3 separate regions of the Homo sapiens genome follow, and all the other regions are linked to region 3. Evidence: promoter capture Hi-C in 16 types of primary human blood cells and fetal thymus (Javierre and others, 2016). All regions are on one chromosome and are shown on one strand. Each heading gives the region's core, a stretch centred on a gene start or on the middle of the fragment in contact. The rest is flanking DNA. Distances are from core to core; before and after follow the strand shown.

The links. The method cuts DNA at HindIII sites, captures the fragments that hold promoters and counts their contacts. A CHiCAGO score of 5 or more calls a contact.
Region 1: a fragment that was not itself captured here is called in contact with the fragment with the promoter of F5 in region 3 in 1 of 17 cell types (neutrophils); the score reaches 6.8 in neutrophils.
Region 2: a contact is called between a fragment that was not itself captured here and the fragment with the promoter of F5 in region 3, in 1 of 17 cell types (neutrophils). The highest score is 5.9, in neutrophils.

Annotation. Positions count from the first base shown.
Region 1 is chr1:169,897,864-169,901,931 of GRCh38, reverse strand. No RefSeq gene overlaps it. Among named protein-coding and RNA genes, the nearest start is that of SCYL3, 6.0 kb to the right of the region's middle. The HindIII fragment of the contact is 5,358 bases long and covers 1-4,068 here.
Region 2 is chr1:169,869,134-169,873,324 of GRCh38, reverse strand. SCYL3 (SCY1 like pseudokinase 3) reads left to right here. Exons shown (of 13, transcript NM_020423.7): 6 at 2,968-3,070. Among named protein-coding and RNA genes, the nearest start is that of SCYL3, 23 kb to the left of the region's middle. The HindIII fragment of the contact is 1,876 bases long and covers 1,361-3,236 here.
Region 3 is chr1:169,584,563-169,588,245 of GRCh38, reverse strand. F5 (coagulation factor V) reads left to right here and starts at 1,765. Exons shown (of 25, transcript NM_000130.5): 1 at 1,765-2,017. The coding sequence starts at 1,860. RefSeq lists enhancers at 1,290-1,789, 1,790-2,291. The HindIII fragment of the contact is 11,391 bases long and covers 1-3,683 here.

The DNA of each region.
Region 1 (4,068 bases), core at 1,279-3,778, 310 kb before region 3:
CAAAAGTATTCCTTCTCCCCTCTCCACTAGGAAACACAAAGTTTGATCACTAAAGGCAGCTTCTGTCAACACTAGAAGAACCTACATTAAAAACTTCCATTTATTTGCCTTACCATGGTTTGCCATCCTTTCTTCTGTCTTATTTCTCTAAGAGTTTATTCTTCTTTGTTGAAGATGCCATATATGCCTGAGTTCTAAGCCACCTCTTTGAGTATCTCCTATGTGTATATGAAATACACATGAATAAACTTCTGTTTGTTTTACTCTTCTCAATCTTTGTTATAGGGGCCCCAGACAATGAAATTAAGAGGGGGAAAAGGAACGATTATTTTTCCTCCTTTATACAACTTTACATTCAGTTCCTCATCTCTTTATTAAATTATCTTTAAAATTACAAAAATACATGCATGTAATCCCGGCACTTTGGGAAGTTGAAGCAGGAGGCAAGGTGTTCAAGACCAGCCTGGGCAACACAGCAAAACCCTGTCTCTACAAAAAATAATTTAAAAAATGTATCTGGATGTGGTGGCACATGCCTGTAATCCTTGCTGCTTGAGGGGCTGGGATGGGAGGACTGCTTGAGGCCAAGAGTTCAAAGTTATAATGAGCTATGATTGCACCATTGTACTTCACCCTGGGTGACAGAGCCTGGACTCTGTCTCTTAAACAAATAAACAAAAACAATGTAGGCTCACTGTAACACATAAAACAATATGCAGATATATAAAAAGGTATATAAAGAAAGTAACCTCTCCCTACCTTACATGGTGAATGTTAACAGACTAGTATATATTTTTCTATACTTCCATTCATTCATTCATCAGTAAATAATTGTTGAGCATCTATAATGTTCCAAGCATTGTTCTAAGCATTTATGGCAGATCATTGAACAAAAACAGATTTTTTTCCCTTGTGAAACTTAACATTCTAGCAGGGGAGAAATAAACCATTAAAATGTAATTTTTTTAAAAAAGTACAATGAGGTTTCTCAGGCAAATATAAAATGAACACATGTCAAAGACTCTATTTAATGTTTTTATTAATGAGGGAATCAGTAAGATTTTAAACTAGTCCAAATAGCAGCTGAGAAGATAGGTGTATATGTAGGCAATTTGATAAAGACATGTCAGGTTCAGGTTGCTGGGTTAATAACTTACAGGACAATAAACTGTAACCATTAAGATGATTTGCTGTGCTGGACAAACTTATTTACATCTCTAGTGGATGAAAATGAAAAAGTTAGCCTCTGCCCCTAAAAAGGTAATAAAGAAGTAGTAAAATAACCTAGTCAATAGGAATTTAATCCAGAATTGCATGGGAAGAAAGCCACAGTAACCTCTTTTGCCTATTTTAAAGTTTCAGATAATTGTTTTCTCTCAAAACCAAAAGCCATAATACATAAGCAAATTGTCATATTTCATCAAATATATGATGCCATCACATTTAGGAAGCATCAATATATTTGGTACCACTAAGAAAAAATTATTGACAAATTATATTATGCCATTTGTGGTAAAATGCATTCTGACCTTCAGGGATGTTAAAATGTGAAAAACTATAGTTTTTACAATCTAGAAAATACAGTATATGGCTGTTTATAAGACGGTCAGTGCTATGGAGGGAAAAAGCAAAAGAAAACAGGATAGGAAGCACCAGGAGTGTAGCAGGAAGGAAGGTAAACGTTGTAGAATTAGATAGGGTGGATCAGGACAGACTTCATTGAGAAGACGAGATCTGAACAAAAAATAGAAGTAACAGACTTAGTCAAATGGACATGTGGGAAAAGAGAATGACAGGAAAAGGAAGCGCTAGAGCAAAAGTCCTAAGGCAAGAGCTCACCTGGCATGCTGACAGGACAGCAAGGAGGCCACTGAGCATGGACCAGAGTTAGTGAGCAGGAGGATAGCAGTGAGGCCAAAGGAGGGAGGCCTTAGATCATTTAGGGCAGTTCTCAAACCTTCCTGCAAGGAAGGTGCCTGCAAATCACCTAAAGATCCTGTTAAAATGTAGATTCTGACTCGACAATCTAGCGTGAGGCCTCAGCTTTTGCATTTTTAACATGCTTCCAGAGGATGCTCATGTTGCCTTCAAATATTAATTAACCACCCCTACAGGATAGATCTAAGTTAGTACACATCTGTATCTCCCTGAAGGCTGAAGTATTTCAAAGAAGAGGTAGATATATAATGCACACATTGTTTGCCCCAAATCTTTCTCCCAGGAGTATGATTCCAAGATGATTCATGGCTCTTTGAAGTTGAGAAGCAATTCACACTTCAGAGGCTTTTAGCATCTGAAAGATTTCAATGAGAAGTCTATACTCCTGGGGCAGATACTACAAACACTTCAGCTATCTCTAACTCAGATCAATACTAGTGGCTTTAAGGATGTTTAAAAGTGAATTTTCATGGCCAAAATAAGTAATTTCAAGATGGACAGAATGAATAGAAATGTTGCCATGCCTTACATGATCAGAGTATGAGAATCTAGTGAGTCTAGCAATCTACACACTTTGGAAAGGTGCCCTAGATTTAGGATTTCAGACCAGCCCCATATGGAGAAGATTACAAGAAGATTTTGTCACCCAGCTCTAATGAGGATAGCTGAGTCTGCTATTAGAATACTGTCCCATCTTCCTGCAGTGGATGGACCTTTCATGCAAGATGCTATTCAAGCTCCTACACAAGGAAGTGGAACCTCACTGAGTTTGTATAACAGCTCTACTGCCTGTCTTTAAACCTTGCTAATAAACGTGTGAATGTGTAGAATCCCACCTCAGACTTGCTTTCATTCTCTCTTTGTAGTGGTAGCAAGGTTATGGTGGAACTTAGAAAACACATACTTCTCATTAGAGAAATCTTCCAATATCTATGCAAAGTTCCTAAAAACAACGAGAGAACAAAGTGGCTTAGGTCCAGTTCAGTTTTCTATAAGGTATCCACTACTTATGGATGCTATATGTATTTATCTGAAATGTGCCTGAAGGAGGGTTTGTCATTCATGCAAGTTTCCCCCTTTACACTTCCAGATTCTAATTGCAATTATGCAATTACACAAATTATTGAGGTAGAACATTAAATAGAAATCACTTGAATAACTTTTACTCTCTTTGGTTTTCAGGTAGAGCTTGTAAAAAAGTTAGTTCAAATCAAGTTGGAAAAAAATAATTAAGTTGGATGGCTAAGGCTTTTATAGAACCAGGAATATATCCAAGATACTTATAGTCTACTTGGGAATCTAAGTTAGAAACATGAAAAAGATTAATTAAAAAAACACCTAAAAGTCAAGCTGAATACCATTGACATGTTTTGATTTGAATTAAGAAGAGGATTGGTTGGAAGTAAAATTCAGGTTGATCCTTAAACAGTATGACAAGAAAAAATTATTTCTATTAAGAAAACAAACTATTTGTTTCTAACTGTCCCACCAGCCACATTCCAAGGACAGCGGATTCAGGTTGTTGGAGATTCTTTTCTTTCCTGGCCTTAGACATATTTAAAATGAGGACTGAGGAATCAGTGAGGGAATACAAGATTTCTATGCATAAGAAAGGCAGAAGGAGCTCAGAGAGCAGCTCCAGGGAACTGAGAACTGGAACCAGAGCTATAGAGGGCTCTGTGGGGTAAGGGCTGGGAGGCAGAGAGATGTAGGGAGGGTGCCTGGGACATGCAGTGTGCTCTCAGTAAATTCATTTGTGTGTTTAATATTTACTGAGTACCTAGTATGTTCTAGGCACTGTGTTATGTGCTAGAAATATGGCAGGAAAGAAAGAAATGAAGGAAGGAAGCCCTGTTTTCAGGGAGCTGATGTTCTAGCTGTGGGACAGAGATGCTGAACAAATATGTGCATTGGTGTTAAGCAAAATAAGGCAAAGTCAAAAGACAGGAAGAGGCAGGTAAGGTGCTGTTTTAGACAGTGTTTTCAGGGGAGCTGTCTCTGATAAATTGCATTCAAGTAGAATTTTCAAAATATAATTATAACTCTCATGCAAATATAAAATGAACACATTAGTTAATGAGGAAACTAAAAAGACATTAAGACTGTTCAAAGAGCATTTGTGTAGCTACA
Region 2 (4,191 bases), core at 1,049-3,548, 280 kb before region 3:
GCCTCACAATCATGGCGGAAGGTGAAAGGCACTTCTCACATGGCAGCAGACAAGAGAAGAGAGCTTGTGCAGGAAAATTCCCTTTTATAAAACCATCAGGTCTTGTGAGACCTACTCACTATTACCAGAACAGCACAGGAGAGATCTACCTCCATAATTCAATCACCTCCCACTGAATTCCTGCCCATGACACATGGGAATTGTGGGAGTTACAATCCAAGATGAGAGTCACAGCCAAACCACATCATTCCTCCCCTGGCCCCTCCCCAGTCTCATGTCCTCACATTTCAAAACCAGTCATGTCTTCTCAACAGTCCCCCAAAGTCTTCACTCATTTCAGCATTAACTCAAAAGTCCATAGTCCAATGTCTCATCTGAGATGAGGCAAGTCCCTTCCACCTATGAGCCTGTAAAATCAGAAGCAAGTTAGTTACTTCCTAGATACAATGGGGGTACAGGCATTGGGTAAATACGGCCATTCCAAATGGGAGAAATTAGCTAAACAAAGGGGCTACAGGCAAGTGTGAAATCCAGTGAGGCAGTCAAATCTTAAAGCTCCAAAATGATCTCCTTTGATTCCGTGTCTCGCATCCGGGTCACGCTGATGCAAGCGGTGGGTTCCCATGGTCTTGGGCAGCTTCTACCCCTGTGGCTCTGCAGGGTACAGTTTCCCTCCTGGCTGCTTTCACAGGCTGGTCTTGAATGTCTGCAGCTTTTCCAGGCACGTGGTGCAAGCTGTCAGTGGATCTACCATTCTGGGATCTGGAGGATGCTGGCCTCCTTCTCACAGCTCCATTAGGCAGTGCTCCAGTAGGAACTCTGTGTGGGGGCACCGACCTCACATTTCCTTTTCACACTGCCCTAGTAGAGGTTCTCCATAAGGGCCCTGCCCATGCAGCAAATTCTGCCTGGGCATCCAGGCATTTCCATACATCTTCTGAAATCTAGGTGGAGGTTCCCAAACCCCAGTTCTTGACTAATGTGCACTTGCAGGCTCAACACCATGTGAAGCTGCCAAGGCTTGGGGCTTGCACCCTCTGAAGCCACATGCTGAGCTCTACGTTGGCCCCTTTCTGCCATGGCTAGAGCGGCTGAGATGCAGGGCACCAAGTCCCTAGGCTTCACACAGCATGGGGACCCTGGGCCTCGCCCATGAAACCACTTTTTCCTCCTAGGCCTGCAGGCCTGTGATGGGAGGGGCTGCCATGAAGATCTCTGACATGCCCTGGAGACATTTTCCCCATTTTCTTGGGGATTAACATTTGGCCCCTCATTACTTATGCAAACTTCTGCAGCTGCCTTGAATGTCACCTGAGATTTTCTTTTCTATTGCATTGTCAGGCTGCAAACTTCCCAAGCTTTTATGCTCTGTTTTCCTTTTAAAACTGAATGCCTTTAACAGCACCCAAGTCACCTCTTGAATGCTCTGCTGCTTAGAAATTTCTTCCGCCAGATACCCTAAATCCTCTCTTAAGTTCAAAGTTCCACAGTTCTTTAGGGCAGGGGCAAAATGCCACCAGTCTCTGCTAAAACATAACAAGAGTCACCTTTGCCCCAGTTCCCAACAAGTTCCTCATCTCCATCTGAGACCACCTCAGCCTGGACCTTATTGTTCATATCACTAGCAGCATTTTTGTCAAAGCCATTCAACAAGTCTCTAGGAAATTCCAAACTTTCCCACATTTTCCTGTCTTCTTCTGAACCCTCCAAACTGTTCCAGCCTTTGCCAGTTACCCAGTTCCAAAGTCCCTTCCATATTTTCAGGTATCTTTTCAGCAACGCCCCACTCTACTGGTACCAATTTACTGTATTACTCTGTTTTCACGCTGCTGATGAAGACATACCCAAGACTGGGCAATTTACAAAAGTTCCACGTGGCTGGGGAGTTCCTTAAAATCATGGCAGAAGGCAAAAGGCACGTCTCACCTGGTGGCAGACAAGAGAAGAGAGCTTATGCAGGGAAACTCCCCTTTTTTAAAGCCATCAGATCTTGTGAGGCCCATTCACTATCATGAGAACAGGGCAGGAAAGACCTGCCCCCCATAATTCAGTCACCTGCCACTGGTTCTTCCCAGGACACGTGGGAATTGTGGGAGTTATAATTCAAGATGAGATTTGGGTGGGAAAACAGTGAAACCATTATCAGTAGTTGCACTTTGCTGGAATCCATAATAATTATGGAAGCAAAAACCCTAGTCCTTTCTTGTATGTCACCCAAACCATTCATCTATCTCTAGCTGCCCATTACTTAGGATTTCAAGATGCACAGAAGAATGATTATTAAGAGTGCTGGTAAAGAAAAATTCTATTTACCAATAAATTCAAAAGCAGATGCTCCTTCTATAAATTTGTTCTTATAGCCACTATAAATAATCCCCAAAGATATATTTAGTGTGCTTTACAGGAAATATGAACTCAACTATAAACTTAAGTATAGACCTAAGACTTGAAATAAATCAGATTTATCCAAATCAGTATTATGTATATATACTAGTGTTTTTAAAATCGGTGATTTGCGGGTTTTAAGTCAATTTAGGGGGTCCTGACTAGCATTTTATAAAAAAAAAAAGAATAAAAGAACATGTCTTTGGGCATCTTAGATAGTAAGGCTAAGCACTGTTTTATGAAACTTTTGTTTCCATTATGTGTGTATTTATGCACGTGTATGTATAGTAGAGCATGATATAAGACATATTCTTTACCATGGATTGCTGTGAAAATATTTGTAAAAGCCACCGACATGTGCCATATTCTAACCTTTTTAAAAATTTTTGCTCATTTTAATGTTTTACAATCTTCAACAAATTCTATTCACTAATAGTGTTAAGAATCTATACATTCATGTGTGGTGGTCTGAAGATAGATTTGAGTATAATAAATACAAACATGGGAGAAGGTGCTTCAGAGAAAATTAGAAATGGCTTATAAGGCAGATCCTCTAGTTTTAATTGTCTTCACTGCTTTTAGTCTCCAGAATTCACAACTCTCCCAGAGTGTCATGGACATGCCCGGGATGCCTTTTCATTTGGAACATTGGTGGAAAGTTTGCTCACAATCTTAAATGAACAGGGTGAGTTGGAGTTATACTACTGCATCTATAGAATAAGTAGGAAAATCATCCATGACGTATTCTGTGTGGAATTCAAAGGACTACAGTCTTTGAGCACAGTAAGGAATCTTTTGCTTACCAGGTAACTTTTTTAGGGCAGATACTAAGAACAGTAAGGAAAGAAGCTTTGGGTTTCATTAGTTTGCATGGTGAAAAGAATTTTAAGTAGGAAGCACTTTGAACTATGGCTGTCAGTATCATGTGTGATTACCTTATTAATTGGTAATAGTACTTAAGCGGTCTAAATGTAGACTCTATTCCTTATTGAACCGGCCAATAAGTACATAACTATCATTAATGATTTATATGTAATAATCTGAATAATAGGGTAAAATTCATAATTTTTTGTTAAATTGAGCTCAACATTTCTTTATTCTTTCAAAGCTCATTTGATTTATTTTCCTATTAATTTACTCTTCACTTTTTTCTTTCATTGCCTCTTAAAGCTCAGGCTGCTAAAGACATTGTTTTCTCCTCTCTTCTGTGTTCTCTAACTGCATGCTTGGCAGCCTGCTTCACTCTCCTGTGCCCACTTTAGGACTTTAATTTTCCACTCATTGAGTTTACTGAGGCATGTGTCACAGTAGGCCCCTTATTGGCCTACATCTCACATGGCTCAAGCTTTGTGCCAGTTCTAATGCGGTTTATTCTGCCAGGCTTATGCAGTGTTCTGATTCAGCTGTCAGCTCTAAATTGTCCCATCCTAAATACTTGAGAATTAAATCCTAAGGCCCAAAGGCATCCATTGTGTATAATGAACTAACTATTCTATGTATTTAGAATGGTAGCAATTATTTACTATCCTTGGAAGAATTGTAAATATAATCATTCATATAACTGTTCTGTGGATGAGGAACCCCTGTTGAGAAAGACCCTCAAACCTATCACTGTTAGCCCTTCTTCTTTGGGCCTGAGCTGGGTTAAATGGATAATCAGGAAATGAGAGGGTATAGAAGGGAATGGCACCTGGGGTGGGGTTTGATGGTGGTGGCAGGACAACTTTCTACACCTGCCAATGAGTTTTGCCTAAGGCAAGCAGGAAGCTGTTTAGCAACAGCCAGGGCTTTGTTTGTTTGGGCTTT
Region 3 (3,683 bases), core at 516-3,015:
TGTAAAAGTTCCCCTGGGAATTCTGATGGTCTGCCAACTTTGGGAGACACTGATAATATTGTAGATAAAGAAGTGTAAGCAACTGTTCAGTTAGGGAGACAATAGATACCTGCATGGAATAACAAAAGGTAATTAACATGATTATATAATTTGAATAGTGTTGTAATAGTTCATAAAATGGAAAAGCCAATTTGAGCCCAGAATCTGGGAGATAGGCAGAACTCTGGACTGTAAAGAATGGCCCAGCAAAGAGGAAGAAAATGGGCATTCTAAGTTGGTGCAATAATATCAGCACAGGAGAAAAGACAGAATATTGGGGGGAGTGGGGAGGGAGGAAGAGGCTGTTGATGAGCCTGATATCATTAACAGAGACCTCATGTGAGGTGCCAGATTACAATTTATTGAATGTACTGAATGCATAAAGCATAAGACAGAAACCTGGAGCCATGCAGATACAGGGAACCCAGGACAAGTCATTATGATGCCTCAGACAATATAATTCGCAGATTCTCTATCAATAGCAAAGTAAGATTTAAGGTGCTGTGAAACAGTCAGATCCTTCAAGAAAAACAAGAATACAAGGGGTCCTGGAGACAGGAAAATATGATCATAATAATAAATTTGTGATTCCTTCTTTCTCTCTTTTTCTCTTTCTTTCTTTTTCTTTCTTTCTTTTTTTTTTTTGATGGAGTTTTGCTCTCGTTGCCCAGGCTGGAGTAAAATGGCATGATATCAGCTCACTGCAAACTCCACCTTCCAGGTTCAAGCAATTCTCTTGCCTCAATCTCTCGAGTAGGTGGGATTACAGGTGTCCACCACAACGCCCGGCTAATTTTTTATATTTTTAGTAGAGAAGGGTTTCACCATGTTGGCCAGGCTGGTCTTGAACTCCTGACCTCAGGTGATTCACCCGCCTTGGCCTCCCAAAGTACTGGGATTACAGGCGTGAGCCACTGCGCCTAGCCTCTGTGTGTTAAGTGCTGGAACTATAGTTTACAGTAGCATTTTATCCTCCCAACATACCCTATCAGGAAAAATTATTATTGTCATCCTTATTTCACAGATGTCAAAACTGAACAGAGAGGTACAGTAACTTGCCCAAGACAACACAGCTAGTAAGTGAAACTGAAATCTGGACAACTGATTTTTTTCAGCCAAGCTCTTCAAGCCCGCTGCTATGCTGCAGCTTAGCTGGCGACAGGCCCTTATCAAGGCAGAACTGTGCCTTGATAGAGGCCAGGAAGGCGATTCAGAGCAGTAGGCCTTGTCCATGTGTTTGTTCCCTGCTTCTTCACCACTTGAAAATAGTGTTTCAGTGCCCAGTAACAGGGCACAATACTCTTTTCCTCAGATTAAAAGGGGAGCCATCTGCTTAAGGTGGTTGGGTGCCACTGCACTGCACAGAAGGTTCTCCAAGTGTGAGCTTGGACCCAGGCAGGCCTCAGGTCAGTGGTAACGGACGACTGCTTCCGTGGTGTTGGCAGGTGGAAATGGAGGGATACAGCTTTGTCCGGCTCATGAATCCCTGGGCATTGTCCCGCCTGCTAGAGCCTCTGATCTCTGCCCCTTCTTCACCTGCAGTAAAACAGTCACTAGTTTGGTTGCTCTCCCTAATACCTCTGGTCACTGGGAGCTGTGATCTCACCAAACCCCTGCCAGGAAAAGCCCCAGAAAAAGCGGAGGGAGTGAGAGCCAGAGGCTGCTGCTGCCGTTTGCAAGAACTGCAGGGGAGGAGGACGCTGCCACCCACAGCCTCTAGAGCTCATTGCAGCTGGGACAGCCCGGAGTGTGGTTAGCAGCTCGGCAAGCGCTGCCCAGGTCCTGGGGTGGTGGCAGCCAGCGGGAGCAGGAAAGGAAGCATGTTCCCAGGCTGCCCACGCCTCTGGGTCCTGGTGGTCTTGGGCACCAGCTGGGTAGGCTGGGGGAGCCAAGGGACAGAAGCGGCACAGCTAAGGCAGTTCTACGTGGCTGCTCAGGGCATCAGTTGGAGCTACCGACCTGAGCCCACAAACTCAAGGTAACTCAGGTGTGGAGTCCGGGTGGGCTTCTCTAGAGAGGAAAATCTATTTCTTTTAGAGAACATTCCCTTTGCAATGTCATGGCTTTTTTTTTTTTTAACTTCAGGTAAGTAAATATAACTAATAGGAGAGTATACTGAATTAAATAAACTGGGCAAATGCTAATTTTGCATCCAACAATGTAGTTTATCATTCTGAGGGTTTAGAAAGCACCCTATTTGATTGGTTAGATGCTACCTTCTTTTCAAGTTTATTTTCAATACAGTTTTGTTAGTATGTTTGTGTTGGCTTATATATTGGTTAATTCAAAGGCACCAGGCACTTGCTCCCTCATTAGCCCTTCCTGCAAACTCCTGTTCCAGATTTTTAGTTGTATAGTATTTTTATGAGACTCCTAGTTACATATTATTTATTCCATTGTCTACATAGCTTCATCTTCTAAAACTAAAAATGAACACCTTGTGCTTTTTGTCATATAATTTTATTGCTGCCTTATAAATGACTTTCAAAATATCATCAGTTCTTGTATGTTTTTGTACTTTCACCTTTTTTCTGCTTCATATTTGACTTATTTATCCTATTGAATGTGACTCTTCATTTTTTTTTCTCTCTGTTCATCATGTCCTGGGATATGGTTTACCTTGGCTACTTAAAGGCATATGTAACTGAGAGGAGGTTTAATTCAGATAAAATACTATCCTTGAGTTGCAAACTATTTTTTCTAATTGAAATGTTAAAAATAAGACTTCTCAGAAATTAACTAAATCATACAGTCTATTCAATATTTCCAGTTAGTTATTTTTTAAATGGTAAACCTGCTAGTGTGACTCACTTTTTTTCCTTACATCACACTTCATTATGAAAGATGTGTTCCTCTTTTACAATTACAAAACCAAAGTAATCTGCCAAAAAATAATGTAATATTTTGAGATCTTTTAGTGTATAATATTAACCTTTTTAAAACTCTCATTGTAACTGGGTTATTTTGGAGGGTATTACATACCATCTTGGTCTTATAATAAGAAGAGATCCCTCCTTCTCAAAAATAATCATTTTAAATATCGTACTTCAAAGTGATAATCTAGGTCACACCCACACCCTTTGGGAACTGCCGTAAGCTAAAACCCCAAGGAAAATAACAGTCCTTCTAACACTAATCTTGCCTGCTCATGAGTAGAATGCAGACTTGGTTGTTGGCTTTCTTGTAGCATGCTGGGTTCATGCTTGGGAGTTTTTTCTCTTGTCTGTAGTTAGCGTTGAAAATAACAAGCAAAATACCGGAGGCAGAACCAGATAGGGCAAAGGTCTGATTCACATGGTGAGTACACAGGGAACCATGACTGGTCATTCTGTCCCCTCATCCTGTGGGTAAGTTTCCAAAGTTCTGGAGATTCGTTCCTCTGGTAGGAATTGTTGAGTCAAAACCATAGAAACACAACCCAGACAAACTGTCATATTGTTTAACCCTAAATCATATCATTTCTCTCTAGCATTTTCTTATGAAAAATCTAATCCATATATCTGGCTGCTTAAACTAAGAACTTGTTCTAACTTGTCCTGCCCCTAGAGCTATGATACTCACTAGGTGAATATCAACATAGCCAACTCCATCTTTTGGCAAAGTGTATTTTAGCACAAAGCAGACATCTATCTACTTATTTCATA